3 separate regions of the Homo sapiens genome follow, and all the other regions are linked to region 1. The links are contacts of gene promoters, found by promoter capture Hi-C in blood cells and fetal thymus (Javierre and others, 2016). All regions are on one chromosome and are shown on one strand. Each heading gives the region's core, a stretch centred on a gene start or on the middle of the fragment in contact. The rest is flanking DNA. Distances are from core to core; before and after follow the strand shown.

Region 1 (3,682 bases), core at 654-3,153:
AGGTCTACAAAAAATTCTAGGGGCCAGGCGCGGTGGCTCACGCCTGTAATCCCAGCACTTTGAGAGGCCAAGGCGGGCAGGTCACCTGAGGTCGGGAGTTCGAGACCAGCCTAACCAACATGGAGTAACCACGTCTCTACTAAAAATACCAAATTAGCTGGGCATGGTGGCATATGCCTGTAATCCCAGCTACTAGGGAGGCCGAGGCAGGAGAATCGCTTGAACACGGGAGGCGGAGGGCGGTAAGCTGAGACTGCGCCATTGCTCTCCAGCCTGGGCAACAAGAGCGAAACTCTGTCTCAAAAAAAAAAAAAAAAAAAAAGCTAGGGAGTACGGGTTGTGAAAGGAACCTGAACCAAGAGGATGGATGCTATAATGAGAAGAGTCTGAGGGAACCCTTAAGGCTGAGAGGGTGGAAAGGTTTCCGAGAACTCTGTGAAAAGGGAGGCCTTTCAGGGAGCATCGAGGGGGCTGGAAGAATATTGGAGAAGAGAAGAAAATTTTGAGAGGAAAAGGGGATTTTCCGGAAGTTAACCCTGGAAGCAAGTGGTCGTTGAGCGTTCCTGAGAATGCCAACGTGAACCCCAACGTGAAGAAATGGGTTCTTAGCACTGACAGACTGATTTCAAAAAGGTCTCCGAAGGGCAGTAAAGAGACCTACGTGGGAGTCCTCAGTGGGACTACCCCTGCCTGCTTCCACGGGAGGTTCCCGGAAGCAGGGGTAGGGCTGGGAGAGAAAAGGGATCACCGTGGTTGGGTGTCTGGACATAAAGCTTTGGGAATGCCAAAGAAGACCCAAAACATGTTCAACGAATTAAGAGTGGGGTACAGAGAGAATTGGAAGAAAAGTGGAGTGTCTCCGGAGCAAGGATTCAGGAGCCTAAACTCCCGAGAGGGAGTAACTGATAAGTAGGATAATTAATCCCGCAGGAGAACCGGAATTCCCACGAGTTGACGGGATAGGAACGGGAGTCTGGAGCTGGGGAAAAGCCCTAGAAACGCAAAGGCTTAACTTAAACAGGACACAGGGCGTGGGTGGAGACGAGGGATCGTGGCGGGGACACAGGAAGAGGAGCCCCAGGGCAGAAGGGAGATTAGAGGTAAGGTCAGGAGTTGGGGGCTGGACAGAGGACTCCCGGACGGGTCTCAAGAACAGAGACAGGCATCAGACGCGAGGCCTGAGGTCCCGGGAGCACCTGGCCGTCCCGCAGGCTGGGCGAAGGCAAAGGAGGACGCCGGGTGGAGGAGGCCGCTCGGATCCCCACGACTAGCCACGGAGCCACTGCCCAGGCCGCGCCTGCGCACCACGCCCCAGAAAGACGCGCAGGAGCCGCCCGTCGCCCGGGGCAACACCCGGTCAACGGCGAGTGAGGGGCGCCCCGGGGCCCCGAGAACTCCAAGGGAGAGGAACGGAAATTAGAAGACGACGGCGCACGCGCGCTAGTGCCCGAACGCGCGGCCCCAGGCCCGGTGCGCAGGCGCAGTGGCTGCCCCTGCGCCGCCACACCCTGTCGACGCTCGCGCGCGGCGTCTGCTGCTGCGACGGCCGAGAAGGCCTCGGGGCTCGCGGGGCGCAAGACCAAAAGGAGATGCTATCCCCGCCCGCCTGCTCGCCTGCCGCTCCCCTTACCAACCAGGATCCTTCGCTGCAGGGACACGCCAACAACCACCCAGGCGATCAGCAACACGGCCACGACACCGCTGTGCCACCCGGCTGGCTCTGGTCTTCTTTGGCTTCGACGTCCTGACCGCGGCGTCCTGACGTCACGCGGCGGCCTTGCACCGCCTCCCTCGGCCCTGCACAGCCAATGAACGCCACGAGCTGCGCTTGAGCCCGCCTTCCTGCCCACGCACTTACGCATGAACATTTTAAGGCAGACCGGAAGTCTGGGTGGGGACGGTGGCCCCGAGGAGACAAGCGTGGCCGCATTAGCTCTTTCTGCCTCCCACGCAGCCTTATTTTTTTTATTGTTGTTTTCTTGTTGCTGTTGTTGTTGTTCTCGGAGACGGAGTCTTGCTCTTGCTCTGTCGTCGCCCACGATAGAGTACAGTGGCGTGATCTCTGCTCACTGCAACCTCCGCCTCCTGGGTTCAAACAATTCTGCCTCAGCCTCCGGAGTAGCTGGGATTACAGGCGCGCGCCACTATGCCCGGCTAATTTTTGTGTTTTTAGTAAAGACGGGGTTTCACCATGTCGGCCAGGCTGTTCTCGAACTCCTGACCTCGTGATCCCTCCGTCTCGGCTTCCCAAAGTGCTGGGATTACGGGCGTGAGCCACCGTGCCCGGCCGCAGCCTTGTTTTGACTGAGTCAGTGGGAGCCATTACTGTTCCTAAATGTAAACTGGCGTGACAGGAGTTCCGGGATTGTCCACAGCACGGTGATGTGGAAGCCCTGGGGAGAGAATGATAAAGAAAGGGGATGAGGAACAGCTCCACCCGGAAGAGCGGGCTTCCCTAGCAAATGAATCTGGAAGGGCGCAGGGGAGGGGGCACGGCGAGTTCAGATGGACCGAGGCTGGAAGCTGACGCGGTTGGAGGGGGATGGGTGTAGCTGTTGGCAGTGGCGCTGGGGTGGAAGTGTGTGGGGTCACAGATGTGTAAGGGTGGGCGCGGAGCAGACCCCCGAAGGTCCCTGAGGTCAGGCTGAGGCATTGGACCAAATCCGTACATAGGCATTTCTCTGAACTGCGCGCCACCTTTTGAGTGCCATCTGTTTCCGTCCAGGACTCTGATACAACTATCCAGTCCGCTGCAGGGACCGGTCACTGTGTCACAGTAAGTGGTGGGATTTAAGAGGCAGTTTTCCTCCTCATGTTCTACCATTATGAACGTCTAGCTTGAAAAATACATACCATTTTCATAACTACGTATTATTTTGTTAGTGCTAGCATAGTAGATCTTTTTCCGTTATTTTACTCTGTGGGGGGGGGGGGGTTTGTTTTGTTTTTGTTTTTGTTTTCTTTTTGGTACTAAGCTTTTTGTTCTGGAATAATTTTGGATTTATTCAAAACGTTGCAAAGACCGGGCGCGCTGGCTCACGCCTGTAATCCCAACACTTTGGGAGGCCGAGATGGGTGGATCACCTGGGGTCAGGAGTTCAAGATCAGCCTGGCCAACATGGTGAAGTCCCGTCTCTACTAAAAATACAGAAATTAGCTGGGCGTGGTGGCGCGTGCACCTGTAATCCCGGCTACTCGGGAGGCTGAGGCAGGAGAATCGCTTGAACCCAGGAGGCCAAGGTTGCAGTGAGCCGAGGTTACACCATTGCACTCCAGCCTGGGCAACAAGAGTGAAATTCTTGTCTCAAAAAAAAAAAAAAGAAAAGTTGCAAAGATCATAAGCAGTCCACCATGTTTTATGCCCACTTTCTTCTGATGCTGTCATCACAAGCACCAACAAAAGTGGTTTGTTGTAGATACTGACATGATGCATTACTGTAACTAAAACCCAGACTTTACTGGGATTTCACCACCTTTTCCTCCAATGTTTTCTTTACATGCCAGGGTACAAGCCAGGACCCACGTTCCATTTAGCTTCCTTTTACCTGTTGTATTTAGGGTGGGTTTCTTGTAGATAGCATGTAGTTGGATCTTGCTTTTTTTTGCCCAAGCGAACAGTCTCTGCCTTTTAAAAGAGGTGTTTATAACTGTACTTTTATTTTTTATGTCTTATTCTTTAGCA
Region 2 (3,682 bases), core at 734-3,233, about 16 Mb after region 1:
TTCCCAGATGAAGGAAGAGGACCCAAGCAGCCAGAGCTCCAGAAATAAAGGAGCTTCCATGCAACCACCCCCCCAGTTGGGGGCAGGGCCCATTCTCACTTGTAATCAAAGTAGTAGCATTTGAGCTGGGCCATGTAGCGCTCGAAGGAGGGGATGTCCTTGCGTAGGATGCTCCATTGGGCCCCGATCTCCAGTATGTCACCTGTGGGTGACAGAGTGAGCTCTCAGGAGGTGACTGAGGTCTCTTCCCCAACCACCAGTGCTACCATTCCTGCCATGACCCCCAGATTATCACCCCCAACCAACCCCAGTGACACTCACGGGCCAGAATTAGCTGCTGTTTGGTCAGCTTGGTCCCTGTGGTTGGCAAGAAGTTGAGCTCCAGAAGAACTAGCTGATGGGGAGGGGAGGGAGGGAAGAAAGAAAAGAAGGGAATTCAAATACAGATGACTTACCTGCTCTACGCTCTGGTCTTCCCACTTGGAAAATGGAGCTAACCATCATCCAGACTCATGAGGAATGCTTTCTCATAAAGCACTCAGAACAGGGCCTGAGCACGCAACACATGCCCATTTAAGATTACATCACATTACAATTATTAATAGCCCCACTGGGGAAACAAGGAGGGACACTCAGTGCCTGACCCAGTGGAATCACGCGGCGGTGGGGACAGGAGTACATTCCATTCTTGGCCCATCTTCCCCACAATCTATTGGGGAAGGGGTAGCTGGGCTATCCCCAAAATCTATATCTGGGAGGGGGAGGTCCAAATCTCCCCCCACAGTTCAGCCCATACATCTTTCCTTAGCAGGCTCAGCAGCTTGTTCCAAGCCACTGGATTTACACTCCCTCCCAACAGATGTTTGGTCTGAAGCACTCTGGGCCCCGTATTCTTGTTCTCTACTTGTAAGAATATTTCTTCTAGGTTCAGTCCTGCCTTCACAACTAGGCTGCCCCCTCTCCCAACAGATGCGAGCCTAAGCCCCAGATCTCTCAGATCCTAACCCAGCCTGGTCTTAACCACACACCCTCTACACAGCCCACCTTTTCAGCCTCATTCTTTTATCACTCCGGGCAGTCCTCACTTCCCACTTGGTCTTGCCTGGAATCCACCATCAGGAAAAGCCCGAATCCCAATCCTGCCACTCCGACCAGTTAAGCCTCCACGCACCAAAAATCTAACCCCTCACTCAGTTCTGCCATAAGTCTTCCAATCATTCCCCCACCACCCCCGCGTGGGTCCATTCCAGTCATCTCTCACTTAAAAAAAAAATGTAGAGACAGAGTCTCGCTATGTTGCTCAGGCTGATCTTGAACTCCTGGGCTCAAGCGACGCTCCCCCGCCTCGGCCTCCCAAAGCGCTGCGATTACAGGCGTGACCATCAACGCTCCCTGTCCCTCTCTCGCTTCTTGACGCCCTCCGAGCCCCCACTTTGGCTGTTCCAAATCTTTCACCCCATCGGATCCCCCAGCCCGCCTCAGTCTCGCTGGCACCGAGGTGGCTTCCGCGGCCCGGGACTTGGTTGGGTCCAGACACCTCGTAGCGCCTCCCACGCCCGCAACACTCGGTTTCCTGGGCCTGCCGACTTTACCTTGAGTCGACCCAGCTCTTCCCCGCACTTGCTAAGATTGGGGCTTTTACGGTTCCACTCGCCCTTGAGTTGCTCGTACATGCCGGTCGCGGCCTGCAGAACAGCGCCCGAGGTTGCCGCGGGCCCGGAGCTCGAGAAGCCTGCCGCCCCGTTCACCGCCGCGGCCGCCATCTTGCGTGATGCGGCAAGCAGACCGCCTGATTTACGGCAGCGCCGCCTACAAACGCTTGCCCGGCGGAAGTGGGGCCGAGAGGTGGAGCCCAAGGCCCGGGGCGGGGCTACAACCTGCCTCAGCCCGCCCCGGGTAGCCCGCCGTCGCTCTCGAGGTGGCGCCCTCGGAGCCCTGCCCTTAATGAACATGTCAGTTGGAGCTCCGCCTCTGTCGTCACTCAAGATGGTGACCGGAAGTTGGCTTTTGCCCTAACTGAAAATGACAGCTGTCTCAACACCACCCCCCCTACCCACCTCACGGTTCCAATAATGAACATGGCTGCCCTGGCTTCAGTCTGAGTGCTCGGGACGCTACGTAGCTGTCCTGGAGGTTCCGCCTTCGGGGCAGCGTCTCCAAGCCAAAAGGTAGCGGGTGTCGTGCCATTTGGAGAGCTGTGTTATTCTCATTTTATAGACAGACTGAGAGGCTGGGTAACCTTCCAAAGGACTAACAGCTAGGATGTGTACCTGGGGCTCCCTCTCCAGTCTTTTTCAATGCATCCTTCCACATTTTTTTCCCAAGCTTATATGAACTAACTAGTTACAAAACTCATCCAGCTCTATGGCTTTCAATGTCATGTGTAAGTGGAGGATTCACAATTTTTTTTTTTTGAGACGGAGTTTAGCTCTTGTTGTCCAGGCTGGAGTGCAATGGAGCAATCTTGGCTCACTGCATCCTCCGCCTCCTGGGTACAAGTGATTCTTCTGCCCCAGCTTCCCAAGTAGCTGGGATTACAAGCATGTGCCACCACGCCTGGCTAATTTTCGTATTTTTAGTAGAGACGTAATTTTAGTATTTTTAGTAGATGTTGGTCAGGCTGGTCTCCAACTCCTGAACTCAGGCGATTCCCTGGGCCCTGGCCTCCCGAAATGCTGGGATTACAGGCATGAGCCACCTTGCCTGGCCAGTATTCACAACTTCTTATACCAACTTCTTCCTCCACTGATTGATATTACATCTGCACATTCAACATCGCTTTTTCTCTCTTTTTAAAAAAAATTAAATTTTTTATAGAGACAGAGTCTCATTATACTGCCCAGGCTGGTCTCGAACTCCTGAGCTCAAGCGATATTCCTGCCTTGACCTCGCAAAGTGTTGGGATTAGAGGTGTGAGCCACTGCGCCTGGGCAGCACGTTTTTCTCAAACCCGACTTTCACTCTCCGTCTCCACCATTTAGAATGTCATCTCCATGAAGGCAGGACGATTTCCTTCACTACTGAATTCCCAGTATCTCAGTGCTTGGCAAATATTAGTAGACAGTCAATAAATATTTGTTGGCCAGGCATGGTGGCTCATGCCTGTAATCCCAGCACTTTGGGAAGCCGAGGCAGATAGATCACTTGAGGTCAGGAGTTCGAGACCAACCTGGCCAACATGGCGAAACCCCATCTGTACTGCAAATACCAAAAAAAAAAAACAAAAAAACCAGCTGTGCGTGGTGGCACACACCTGTAATCCCAGATACTCAGGAGCCCGAGGCAGGAGAATCGCTTAAACCCAGGAGGTCAGCTTGTAGTGAGCTGAGATTGTGCCGCTGCACTCCAGCCTGGGTGACAGAGTGAGACTCTGTCTCAGAGAAAATAAATAAATAAATGTAAAAATACCAAAAATTTGCCGGGCGTGGTGGTGCACATCTGTAGTACAGCTACTTGGGAGGCTGAGGCAGGAGAAGCACTTGAACCCGGGAGGCAGAGGTTGCAGTGAACTGAGATCGCCATTGCACTCCTGCCTGGGTGACAGAGCGAGACTGTGCTCAAAAAAAAAAAAAGAAAAAAGAAAAAAAGAAAAAGAAAGAAATTATATATGTGTTGAATTAATGAGTAAATTAATATGTGAAAGAAGTTGTGGTGGTAAAAAATGTTTTAAACAAAAATGATG
Region 3 (3,682 bases), core at 738-3,237, about 11 Mb after region 1:
CAGTATTCCAAAGGCAGATCAAACATTCCTCTCCCATCTAGCAAAAGTCACAGAATGTGAGCCCTGGAAAGAGGATTAGAGACTATCTCTTCCCAAGTCTACAGAAGCTGGGAAGCTGAGGACTGAAAAAGAAGGAAGTTGCTCAGGGCTATGGATCTGGGGACACAGGGGCAGTTAGAAGCTTGGGCTCTCAGGACAGAGAGGATTGCTGGAGCCATCGTCCTGGGGACACAGGAGTTGATAGGAGCTTGGACCCTGAGGACAGAGAGGATGCTGGGAGCCATGGTCCTGCTTCACAGGGGTTGATGGGAGCTTGGACCTGAAGGACAGAGAGGATGCTGGGAGCCGTGGTCCTGAGGACACAGGAGTTGATGGGAGCTTGGACCCTGAGGACAGAGAAGACACTGGGAGCCATGGTCCTGGGACACAAGGGTTGATGGTAGCTATGGTTTTGAGGTCAGAAAGGATACTGGGAGCTGGGTACTGAGGACAGAAAGGGTGTGTGAAGCTGAAGTCCCTTGTGGGACTGGATGTAAAATTTTTTAGTCGGAATAAAAAGTAAGGATTTTCAGCCAGGCATGGTGGCTCACGCCTGTAATCCAGCACTTTGGGAGGCCAGACAGATGGATCACCTGAGGTAAGGAGTTCAAGACCAGCCTGGCCAGCATGGCAAAACTCCGTCTCTACTAAAAATATAAAAATTAGCTAGGCATGGTGGCGGGCGCCTGTAATCTCAGCTACTCGGGAGGCTGAGGCAGGAGAATCACTGGAACCTGGGAGGCAGAGGTTGCAGTGAGTCGAGATCGTGCCACTGCACTCCAGCCTGGGCAACAGAGCGAGACTCCGTCTGGGCGGGGAGGGGGGAGGGGGGAAGGAAAGATGTTCATAATTGGCACTTCTGGACCTCAGTTTGCCTGACAAATGGGCATGAGAGAGGTCGAGGCCTTCTTTCCATGGTTTCTCACTCTTTCTGGGTCCCATAGGTAATGATCCCGCATCAGGTCTACAGGGTGTCACAGAAGTGGGCTCAGGGAAACCCACTCCCAGGAGGGAGAAGGGACCTAAGTCTGGAGGGGTGAGTCACCCTCAAAGATGGGGAGAGAGGAAGGGCAGAGGCAAATACATGCAGAGAGAGGGAGAGAGGCTGGGGCAGGGAGACAGCAGGGAGGAGAGGGGACGCCAGGGCTTGGAAGGTGTTCACAGGAGCCTCTCCCTCCTGGGACCCAGGATTCAGGCTTCCTTCCAGTTAGTTCACTTTCAGGGGGCCCCTCCCGGAGAATGACGCGGAAACACGGGGTTTTCAGGTCAGGACAGGAGAGAGGGAGGGAGGGAACTGACCCCACCCCACTCCTGAGCCCCAGCCTCGCCCTGCCCTGGGAGATCCTTGACCTGCCTCGACCTCCGGACCCTCCGGACCTCCAGCTGCAGCCTCCCCTGTCCCGGTGGCTCAGCTCACAGCCTCTCGCTAGACTCCAGACACCCACCTGCCCGCAGCACGCCTCTCACACTCACCTTTCCCACGTCGCACTCCCTCCCTTACGCTCCCCCGTCACGCTGGCCACGCTCTCCCTTCGCACACACCGCACCCCACGACGCCCGCGCCCCCACCCTCGCACAGCCTCCAGCAACACCCTGCCACCCTCCCCTCCGCGCAGCGCAAGCACCCTGCATGCCAGCAACTCCGCACCCTCGCGCGCAGCACCTGGGCCCGCACGCAGCACCCTCACCCAACACCCTCCATTTCCCGCGCTCACCGAGATCCCCCACCTGCTCCCACGCCGCTGTCGCCCTCCCGCGCACCCCTTCCCGCCCTCCTCACCCCTCTCCTCTCCAGCTTTCGCACCCCGCACCGTTCCCCCACCGTGCCGTCCCCCCGATTGTCTCCGGGCCTCTCCTCCGTCTCCCCCTCCCCTCCCCGGCCCCGCCCCGGCCTCGGCGCCCCGCCCCCGGGCGGGCAGGGGGCGGGGCGCGGGGGGCGGGGCGGGCGGCGCGGGCGGTGCAGGTGCCGGGCCGGGAGCGAGCGGCGGCGGCGGCGGCGGCGGCACCATGGGCCGGGCCCGGCGCTTCCAGTGGCCGCTGCTGCTGCTGTGGGCGGCCGCGGCGGGGCCAGGTAGGGTCGGGGGCCGGGGTCGGCCGGCCGGGCTGGGGCGGGGGGCGCGCTGTGGTGACAGCCCGGCAGCCTCGGGGCCGCAGAGGCCGAACAATGCGCGCGGGGCCGGGCCGGGCCCCCTCCCCGGGACAAAGCGCAGCGCGGGCCGGGAGCCGGGAGCGACGAGCGGGGGAGGGGGCGCGGGGCCCGGCCGCCGTGCCGCAGCCCCCCCACCCGCGCAGGCTGGATCCCGGCGGGGACAAAGGGCCCGAGACCCCCCTACACACACAAGTCCGCCCTCCCCAGGCCGGTCCCGCTGTCCTTCTGTCCAGTCTCTGCGTCCCTCTGTCCGCCCGTCTCTGAACCCCCCCGTCTGGCTCCTCGTCCCCCTACCCTTGTCCTCTATCCCTCAGTCTCGAAGTCCTGTCCCTCCTTCTGTCTGTCTCCCTCTCTTCTTGCCTCGGTGTTCCTCATCTATTCTGTCTTTGTCCCCTACCTCTGTCCCCTGGTCTCTGTCCCCTTTTCCTGGGTCACTCTGTCCCCTCCATCATCCTGTCTATTCTCTTTCCCCCGGATTTCTGCCCTCCCTCTCTGCCCCTATTCTTGGTCCCTGTCTCTGTCTCGCTGTCACCCTTGTTTTTCTGTCCCTTTTTCTCTGTCCCCTATCTGCCCCATCCCCTTGTCTCTGTCCCCTGTCTTTCTGTCACTCGTTTCTCTAACCCTTTCTGTCACCTGTCTCTTTCCCCCTTCTCTGTCCCACTATCTCCATCCCTGTCTTTCTGCTGTGCCTCCTCTCTCTACGCTTACAGCCTCCATCCCGGGATCTCCCATTCCCATCCTACCTTCCTCCCTCTCTCTATCCCTCTGTGCCCCTGAAGAGGAATTCAGTCAGGCAGGGCATTCTAAAGAGCCCTGGAGGGGAACATCTGTGTGCATGTGTGTGGGGAAGTGAGAATGGGGGACCTTGGCGTGTAGGCACACACGTGGATTCAGCGAATGCCTCTCCAAACCCTGCTCACCCATTCACACACCCAGGCTTGACTCACAGAGAAGCCCCTGTCCAGGACATCCAGGGAGCCATCCACATACCCTCATCACACACTGTGAGAAGCTGGAGACCCCCGAGGTTGGGTGACCCTGAGAATGGGGACAAGGTCAGGAAATGTCACCCACACACACTCTCACACTGTGTAAGTCTTGAACCTGCCACGGGTCACCCCTCCCTGGTGGATAAGGCCACTTTTGGAAGGAACAGAGGATTGGAAGGTGGCTAGGCAGAAGCAGGAGGGCTGGGTGTTCGGCAGAGATTGGTGAGAGGAGTTATAACCAGGTGGCATGGGGCTGGCGGCCTGGGCTTAAATCTTGGCTCTTGCCATTTGCCATCGCAGCCAATGGTAAACACCTTCCTCTCTCCAGGCTTCTGTTTCTCTTTCTGTAAAGTGAGGATGTTGAACTCAGTGACATGAAAGGGAACGCCAGCTCAGACCGTGAAGGGGTTTCTGGCAAGTTGAGTGCGGTTACATGTTCCCCACTCCAGGGTTTGAGGCAGAGCCATCCTCACCTCGGCCAGGATGAGGGGCAAAGCTGTCCTCT

What was found. Contacts are between HindIII fragments. The CHiCAGO score rates a contact against its expected background, and 5 or more counts as called.
Region 2: a contact is called between the fragment with the promoter of PSMD8 here and the fragment with the promoter of LENG8-AS1 in region 1, in 3 of 17 cell types (naive CD8 T cells, naive CD4 T cells and total CD8 T cells). The highest score is 6.2, in naive CD8 T cells.
Region 3: a contact is called between the fragment with the promoter of CADM4 here and the fragment with the promoter of LENG8-AS1 in region 1, in 1 of 17 cell types (non-activated CD4 T cells). The highest score is 5.1, in non-activated CD4 T cells.

Annotation. Positions count from the first base shown.
Region 1 is chr19:54,447,259-54,450,940 of GRCh38, reverse strand. It overlaps LENG8-AS1 (LENG8 antisense RNA 1), which reads left to right and starts at 1,903. Exons shown (of 3, transcript NR_126418.1): 1 at 1,903-2,379; 2 at 2,726-2,776. It overlaps LENG8 (leukocyte receptor cluster member 8), which reads right to left and starts at 1,742. Exons shown (of 16, transcript NM_052925.4): 1 at 1,631-1,742. RefSeq lists an enhancer at 1,085-1,992. The HindIII fragment of the contact is 2,202 bases long and covers 776-2,977 here.
Region 2 is chr19:38,372,872-38,376,553 of GRCh38, reverse strand. It overlaps PSMD8 (proteasome 26S subunit, non-ATPase 8), which reads right to left and starts at 1,983. Exons shown (of 7, transcript NM_002812.5): 1 at 1,593-1,983; 2 at 322-394; 3 at 100-202. The coding sequence starts at 1,952. RefSeq lists enhancers at 1,674-1,813, 1,444-2,074. The HindIII fragment of the contact is 10,393 bases long and covers 1-2,327 here.
Region 3 is chr19:43,638,155-43,641,836 of GRCh38, reverse strand. CADM4 (cell adhesion molecule 4) reads left to right here and starts at 1,987. Exons shown (of 9, transcript NM_145296.2): 1 at 1,987-2,110. The coding sequence starts at 2,047. RefSeq lists a silencer at 1,964-2,103. The HindIII fragment of the contact is 9,580 bases long and covers 184-3,682 here.